Linked DNA regions of Homo sapiens: region 1 is linked to region 2. The links are contacts of gene promoters, found by promoter capture Hi-C in blood cells and fetal thymus (Javierre and others, 2016). All regions are on one chromosome and are shown on one strand. The core of a region is centred on a gene start or on the middle of the fragment in contact, and the rest is flanking DNA. Distances in the headings are between cores, read along the strand shown. Region 1 holds the start of TMEM105 (TMEM105 long non-coding RNA). Region 2 has its middle 2.6 kb from the start of ACTG1.

Evidence for each region. The method cuts DNA at HindIII sites, captures the fragments that hold promoters and counts their contacts. A CHiCAGO score of 5 or more calls a contact.
Region 1: the fragment with the promoter of TMEM105 here is called in contact with a fragment that was not itself captured in region 2 in 2 of 17 cell types (endothelial precursors and monocytes); the score reaches 6.1 in endothelial precursors.

What each region holds. Positions count from the first base shown.
Region 1 is chr17:81,329,415-81,333,500 of GRCh38, reverse strand. TMEM105 (TMEM105 long non-coding RNA) reads left to right here and starts at 2,827. Exons shown (of 3, transcript NR_165247.1): 1 at 2,827-3,357. RefSeq lists enhancers at 1,060-1,630, 1,631-2,201, 3,345-3,914, 3,915-4,086. The HindIII fragment of the contact is 4,997 bases long and covers 1-3,479 here.
Region 2 is chr17:81,513,359-81,517,349 of GRCh38, reverse strand. It overlaps a transcript of FSCN2 not described here. Among named protein-coding and RNA genes, the nearest start is that of ACTG1, 2.6 kb to the right of the region's middle. RefSeq lists enhancers at 1-175, 1-429, 896-945, 1,054-1,679, 1,680-2,303 and 2 more and silencers at 2,066-2,115, 2,186-2,905, 3,126-3,315, 3,946-3,991. The HindIII fragment of the contact is 1,936 bases long and covers 930-2,865 here.

The DNA.
Region 1 (4,086 bases), core at 1,578-4,077, 180 kb after region 2:
AGGGGAGAAACAAGAGGAAGGTGCCCCCGTAGGAGCCCCAAGACCACCAAAGGGACAGATCTGAGAGGCCACTCCCCAGGCCTGCTGTCCAGCTCTGGGGTGGGAGATGGCACCAGAGGAGAGGCCATCAGAGGCCCCCGAGTGGCAGGACAACGGCTGCGGGACTGCCTCTCCCAGGCTTGCCTTCCCTCGGGTGGCTCAGCAGCCCCTGAGTGATGCTCCTGCCTGGGACGCTTGACCTGCACTGAGCACAGGGGAGTCGGATCCGGAGGCATTCTCGGAATCACCTCTCCGGATGCTCAGAAAAGGGCAATGTTTTTAAAAAGGCAAAAGGGTGCGGTGCGTGTTATAGATGAGAGGAGGCTAACGGGAGACCCTGGATAGGATCCTGAACGAGGCTTGGGGTGGGACTGCTCTGGCGGGCCGTGGAGCTGACTGGGAAGTTTACACACAGCAGGCGGGGCCACGGGGCCGTGCATCGTTCTGTGTGGCACTGCGTTTCCCCAGGCGTGCTGCTGGAGGCAGGCAGGTGTTCTTAGACATTTGATGCTACAGTATTTAGGGTGAAGTGTCAAGGTGTCTGCAACTGACACTCAAAAGATTCAGCAGTTTTACATAAAGGGGGAGCAAGAAGTAAGAGAGGAAGCCAAGGTGACACAATATTTTTTAAAAGGGCTTCTGGGTACAAATCAGTGTACGTACAGAAATACATTTTATTTGTGCAGATGTGCAGAGACACTTTCGGCTGGCATGGTGGTTCATGCCTGTAATTCTAGCACTTTGGGAAGCCAGGGCAGGAGGATTGCTTGAGCCCAGGCTGGACAACATAGTGAGACCCCATCTCTGCAAAAAACACAAAAATTAGCCAGGCGTGGTGGTGTGTGCCTGTAGACCCAGCTACTTGGGAAGCCGAGGATCGCTTGAGTCCAGGAGGTCGAAGCTGCAGTGAGCCTTATTCTCACCACTGCCCTGCAGCCTGGGCAACAGAGCAAGACTCTCTCAAATCAATCAATCAATAAATTTGACTGCAGGTGCCAGAAGTGGACTCTGACTAACTGAAGCCGGGAGCAGGTATTTGGTTGGAGCTTGCAGCAGGGAGGGCAGGGGGAAGGCGCTGTTCAGGCCCCAACAGCAGCGGCTCGGGAGTGGCCCCAGCACAAGCCCAGTGTCCCTCGGCTCAGCATTCAAATTCCAGGAAAAGAGTCCCGATGGTCCGGCTTGGTCTAGGGCTGTGGCCCGTGGCAGGTCCCCAAAACCACACCTGCCGCTCCAGTGCCCCCCAAGGCTGCATGACCTTCGTGTGGACAGGATCATGGAACACATGACCTCACCCAAGCCTCCCAACCATGCCGTGATCCAGCACTGTTAGAATCATCCCCGTTTCACAGAGCAGAGTTGAAGTGTTGGGTGTTTAAACGCTGTGCCCAGGGCTGTCCAGCCAGGGAGTGGAATCTGGTCCTGGCCCAGAAGGCAGCAGCCCCACCCAGGCCACCTGCTCCAGGTCCCCGGGCTCCACAGACTTTCACATCTACTGCAGAGGCGCAAGGACGTTCCCCAGCATCAAAGCCCTCAGACCCTGGTGCCAGCCACGTCGTCACAGAACTTGTAGACCAGAGGATGCCCTGCGGATAGAGGGCCTGCCCTGGGCCTGCGCCAGGCTGGGCATATTGCTGAGGTCCCTGCTCTGTGCTGGCAAAATCCAGACCTCAGGAGAGGGGCAGGCAGGCTCTGAGAGGTTGCGGCTGCCCAGGGCCTGCAGCTGGGAGGAGCGGAGACAGACCCCCCCTCCCCTGGGACACAGTTGCTCTGCACCACACAGCTCCGCTCCTGGCGTCCCCTGGCTTTGCCGGGGGCGGCCGACCCAGCTGGCCAGGCCCCCTCCCCCTGCCCCACAGGTGGCCCTGAGCTGCTGAGGATAAGGCATGCTGGGCGATCTCTGCTGATTAGAGTCGCCCTCCGCTGTGGGCTAGGGGCCCCTATTTTGCTCCTGAGATCCCAGTCGGCCCATAGAAGCCCTCACAGGCTCTCCCGGGGGTCCAAGGAGTCCCAGGAGGCCCCCGTTCACCCCGGGTTTGCCTTCTCCCTCCTGTAATTTGCTTTTCATATGCGTGAAGGGGAACTCAGCAGGAGCAGAAGATGATGTGGCCTCGTGGGAGCGTGGGAGAGCTGGGACGGGGTGGTGGGGAGGAGCGGGGACCCAGGGACAGGGGCTCTGGGTCCAACCACCAGGCCTTTTGCACTTCGTGCTCTCTGTAGCCTCAGCTTCCCCCGAGGGTCAGGAACTCCAGGCAGGGGCATGGGGCAGCTCAGAAACCTTCCTGAGCCCCTTCCCCTGGCAAGAGGCAAACCAAGCAGGTGAGGGCTGGGCCCTGTTCTCAGAGCTGGCATCCCAGCCCTGGCCAGATCCAGGCTGAGGGCGGCCCAGCCCCCTGTTCTGCCTGGTGCAGAGGACACGGCTTCCCTGGCCGGAGCCCCCGCCCCCTCCTCTCCTTTCTTGGCGTCTGCCCCTGGGCGTGCCCTACCATTAAGCCCTTGTTGGTTCCACAAGCTGGGGGCACCCCTTCCTCCCTTCCTCCGGGCAGCCATTGGCAATGGCTGGCGGCTCGGGACAGGGCCCGTATTCTCTGAAAATGATGGCTGGGCTGGAACCCGGGATCGATTCTCAGACCTGCGTCATGTGGAGTCCCGGATGCTTGTTACGAATTCGGACCCTGGCCTGTGCCTGCTCCCTGGTACCTCTGAACAGGGCTTTCTGCCCTGGGGGTGTGAAGAGGGCCAAGTCCACTCCCCGACTGGGGTCACGCCTGCCTCCTGTCAGGACTGTGAACACTGCGTCCCCATCAGCTCAAAGAATACGCATGGGGACAAGCCTGGGGGGCCGTCTGAGAGTCCCCCAACCCTGGATCCCCACGGCAGCCCCCACTGTTGGGTTTTTCAGTGGCTGGTGTGCCCTGGGCTGGTCACCTCTGCATTTTGCTCTGCTGGGAGTTTGCTCCTGGCCCTCCAACAGCGCCTCCTCTGTGAGGAGGAACTCCTGTTCCCGTGGCTCTGCTGGCTCTGGAGGCTGGAGTTCCCGTGCTGGGCCCTCCTGGGCGGGTTCTCTCTTGCTGCCGCCAGTACCCTGCCCCTCTCGTCCTCCTGGGTAGCCTGGGAGGAATGGCAGAAGAAAGCAGTGAAGCCAGGTAGCAGTAGCCCGGCCACCCCACCAGGCTCTGCTGTAGGCTGGGCTCTCAAGGCAGCTGCTCCAGGAGGGGCCCCCTAGGAAGGGACTGCCACACTCCTGGGAGCGTTCCTGGCCCCCTCCAGTGCAAATGACCCTGGGCCCCAAGGCTCCGAACACCCGCCCCTCTGCTCCAGGTAAGAGGGAGATGTGGGTGGTGCCTGGACTGTTGTGTGCTTAGGTGGGGGAGTGGAGCCTTCAGGTCTCAGGAACCCACAAATGCTTGTTGAGCTGATGAACCCTGCAGAGATGAGAAGCTTAGGCCCAGAGAGCTGATGCCACCTGCCTGGGGCCACAAAGTCCACTGGGCAGAGGAGGGTGGGAACCCCAGTCCTTGGCCCCACTGTCAAAGCGGGTGCTTCCCAGGGAGAGCAGAGCCTGGGGTCAGTGCGGAGGACACTGGATCCCCAGTTCCGGGCTGGGGAGAGGCAGCTGGTGTTTCAGTGCTGCAGAGAGGGCCAGGCCGGCCTCAGACACCCTCCCCGAGGCCTGTGTGGGGGTGGAGGGCGGCCACACCTGTCCCACTGCAGGCCCTGGGGTGGGGTTTCCTGTCTGTGCTGGAGCCCGGTCAGGTTTCTCACTTCGCCCGGGGCAGGGGTGCAGGGCAGATGGCCCAGCCAGTCATGAGTCACCAGCCCAGCCTGCCGGCCTGCCTGACAAACGGGAAAGACCCGGCGGGTAGGAGCTGGGCTGGGAGCATCCTAGCTGGGCCTGGGCCAGCCCCTTCCTGGGAGAGGAGGGAAGCTGCCTCAGGCCTCCGGGGAGAAGCTCCCACCTGGCCCGGACCCTCCTCCCTCCTCCCTCCTCTGGCGGGGTGAGTGGGCTGAGGGCCTGCTGGGCCCCTGCATGGTGGGAAAGTTTGGGGA
Region 2 (3,991 bases), core at 648-3,147:
AACTGGGGTACAGAGAGGTCACGTGGCAGGCACAGGGCTGAGCCGGGCCCAGAACCCAGGTGTCCGACTCCCAGCTCAGGGCTCTTCCAGGGGCCTCCTTGGTTCCTGCTCACAGCGGGGATGGGGAGCCTCAGGTAAACTGCAACAGGGATCCTGTCTCCAGAAGGCCTGGAGCAGCGGGGGTGGGGCGGGGCAGGGGAGTGGGGTTGAGGGACTCTCGGCCTGAGTGTCTGTGTGCATTCAAGCCCCTAACCCTCGTGTAGAGTGCCCACACCGCCCTCCAGAACCTTCTGACCTCCCAGAATGTGACCTTGTTTCTGGCTAATTACCCTGACCCAGGAGACTGCCTCAGTTTCCCTCCCTGTGAAAACTCCACAGTCTGGGACTCTCCTCCAGTGGTGAGAATTGGACAAAACATGCAGAGACCTGGTCTGGGGACCAGGTGAGAATTGGACAAAACATGCAGAGACCTGGTCTGGGGACCAGGTGAGAATTGGACAACACATGCAGAGACCTGGTCCTGGGACCAAACAAGCAGCACCTGGCCACTCACAGCCAGCTGCCCAGTGACTCCGCAGGGGTGGGGTGGGGGGCAGCCAGCTGAGCCTTCTGAGCTTCAGTCTGCGCAGTGGGGCAGGAGAACCAAGCCCCAAGCTGGGCACCAGCCAGGAGACAGAAGTGTGGGACCCTGGCCTTGTCCCTTGAGCCAAAACTCAGAGGCAGCCAGGCCGAGTTGCAGGAAACCAGCCTTGCCCACCGGGACCAGCCTTGGGACCACTGTTCCTGAAGAGGCAGAGCCCACTCCAGACCTGCCCAAGGGAGCCAGCCAGGCCCTGGAAAGAGCTTCAGGAAACAGGGCCATCACCTTGCATTTCATCTGTCCAAAAGGGTGTGGGAGAAGAGGGAGGTGGGCTGAGAGTAGGGAAGCTTTGCTTGCCTTGGATTCAAGTTAGCTTTTTATTATGGGAGAACTTTAAACTTACAGAAAAGTTGCAAAGACAGTGGGAAGGTTTCCCAATGCTCTATTCCCAGTGTCCCCTAACCTGGCATCTTACACGGTCATGGGACAACTGCCATAACTGAGAGATTAACCTTGATACTTACGGCCAAACTCAAGGCTGTGGGCTTTGCTAGTTCTTCCACCACTGTTCCTTTTTCTGTTCAGGGTCCATCGTTTCATTTAGTGGTGGAAGATGAGACACTCCAGGCTGGGTGAGGTGGCTCACGCCTGTAATCCCAGCACTTTGGAAGGCCTAGGCGAGTGGATCACTTAAGGTCAGGAGTTCAGGCCAGCCTGGCCAACATGGTGAAACCCTGTCTCCACCAAAAATGCAAAAATTAGCCAGGCATGGTGGTGCACGCCTGTAGTCTCAGCTACTCGGGAGGCTAAGGCCCGAGAATCGCTTGAACCCCGGAGACAGAGGTTGCAGCGAGCCAAGATCGCGCCACTGCGCTCCAGCCTGGGCGACAATGAGACTGTCTCAAAAATACAATAAAATAAAATATAAAGAAAAAGTAGACATTCCAGGCAGGTAGAGTGACAGAGGCAAAGGCTAGGGGTGGGGACCCATGCCCACGCCCCCATGTCTGTCTGACAAGTAGCCGGCCAGGTGGTTGGCGGTGGGGACTGGGGGGCCCTGTCAACTGGTGTGGAGGTGACCCAGAGTCCGGGGGCTGATCCGGTGCAGAGGGAGGAACAGGGCAAGGAGCTGGAGGTGGGGCAGTGCAGGCCGTGGAGGGCGCAGGCCCTGGGTTAAGCCTCAGCTCTGCCATACCTCCCTGGGCCACTGTTGTCGTATCCACTAAATGGGCCGAAACTAAAATAAGACATAACAAGGTCATGATAAAAAGCCATCAAAACCAGCACTGAACTAGAAAAGAAAAATCACATCGCTTCTCCAGGCCCCAAGTCTCCCTTCCTGAAATGTGAAGGACACACCCACCTCTGGCGGAAGTGCAGCTGCCGACTCTCCCGGCTCCGGAGGCCGCCCAGCTACCCCCAGCTCCATCCATGCGGTCCCCTCCCCAGGCCCAGCTGCCCGGCCCTCTCCGGCACTGGTTCCAGAAGGGTGGCGGCTGCCCTGCGCCACTGGCTTCCCAGAGCATATCCAGGACAGGCCCCGCGCGACCTTGGGCGAGGCCCCGCTGCTAAACAGAAAAATCACAGCGCGCGGTCCAGCCCCCTGCGCCCCGCGGGCTCCAGGCCTCGCCCTGCCCGCCCGCCCGCATCCCAGGGACAGGCAGACCCGCATCCCCGCCGCCGTCGGTCCCGGGACTCCCCAGGCTCCGAGGCCCCCCACGCCCGGCTCCCGCCCCGACCCCTCGGAGGCGCCGGGCCACTCCTACGCCCCGAGGCTGCCCGGCCGCCGCCCCTCTGTCCCGCGCGCCAATCGGCGGCCTCCTTGACTAAATAAGGCCAGGAGCGCCGGGCGGGCGCCCCCCGTCCGTTACTTCCGCCCCCCGCCCGCCGTGACTCAGGCCCGGCGGCGGGCGGGGATGGCGCTGCCCCGGGCCGGGCTTCCCGGCGGAGGCGGGCGGGGCTCCGGCGGCGCCGAAGTCGCCAAATATGGCCGCGCCACCGCCCCCCGCCGCGTACCTGGGCCACACCTTGACCCCTGCCGCGTGACGCGGCCGCGGAGGAGGAAGTCGCTCTCCACCCCCGGCCCGCGGCGGCGTCCCCTCCCCGCCCCTCCCCGCGGCTCAGGCCCTGCGGGTGGCGGGGAACCCGGGGGTCTCGAGGCGCCAGCCTCGCCCCCGCCCCCACGACCCTGGCGGCCTCGGGTCCGCAACGTGGGGAAGAAAGGTGGGGGACGGGGACGCGCGCCCGGGGCCGGCACCTCCCCGCACTTCCTAGACAAAGAAGCTTCGGAGGAGACCAGAGACCCGGAGGGGCAGGGTCCCCGGCCGGCCCGGAGCAGAACGTAGTGTGGGGTGAACGCAGGATGGAGGGGCTTGTGGCTATTCCCCACCCGCCTCGTGTCCCTCGGTGTGTGACGTCGCATCTTGGGACCCCCCAAGTGGAAGTCCTCACCCGGGGGTCGAGCAGGCTGTGTGGTTCTGCCCAGGGACGCGAGTCCGGGTGGGTCTGTTGGAGGCCCAGCCCCGGCTTCGCCACGGGAGGGAACATACCTGACAGCCTTGCCCGGGCCCCCGGAGATTCTGGGCCTGGGGGCGCTCAGCACCCCTGGGAGGCCTGGGGCACGGGGGCCTTAGGCACGGGTCTCGGCGTCCGGGCTGACTGCAGCCCGCAGGTGAGCTGGGCCGGCCGCCTTGCCCTGACTCGCTGTTGTCACTCCCAAACACGGGGTCGCGAGCTAACGTTGCAGGGCCCCGGACTCCGCGTGGGGACCCCGGCCCCGCCCCCCAGCCTGTCGAGTCAATCTGAACGCTCTGCGACCTCGGGCGAGTCCGTCCCCTCACTGCGCGGCCTCACTGCCACCCCTACGCGGCCGGCGCTCCAACCCTGAAAATTCCAGCAGCGCACAAGGAAACCGTAGTGCCGGGCGCCTCTCGGGGTGTAACCAAAGCACCGGCGCCGCTCCTGGCGAGGAGTGAGCGCCCTGGACAAGCCTGTGGCTAAACCCACGCCAGCCCTGATCGCTGCTCTTAACTAGCATCGTAAACAGAAGAGGGTATCCCCCCGACCGCCCGAAGCTGGGGAGCCGACCTTCAAAAAAGTCAGGGCTCCCATTGTCTACCTCAGTTTCCCTATAATGTCTACAGGTGACCAGAATGAAACAAAGGCCTCACTCCACACCACCTTCTCAGCACATAAGGGGGCGGGGTAGCCCCAACCCGGAGCGCGCGCCTGGGGACAATCAGGCCTGTGATTTGAGGGGCAGGGATGTGTCGGGTCGGGTAGAAAGGGGCCTCGGTCTTCAAACGAACGGAGATCCGGGGCAGGGCGCCCCGTGGAGGGACCTGCATGGTGGTGGCTGCGCTTGGGGACGGGCGGGCTGTTTCCTATGGTGACCGGGGCGAGGTGAGGGCT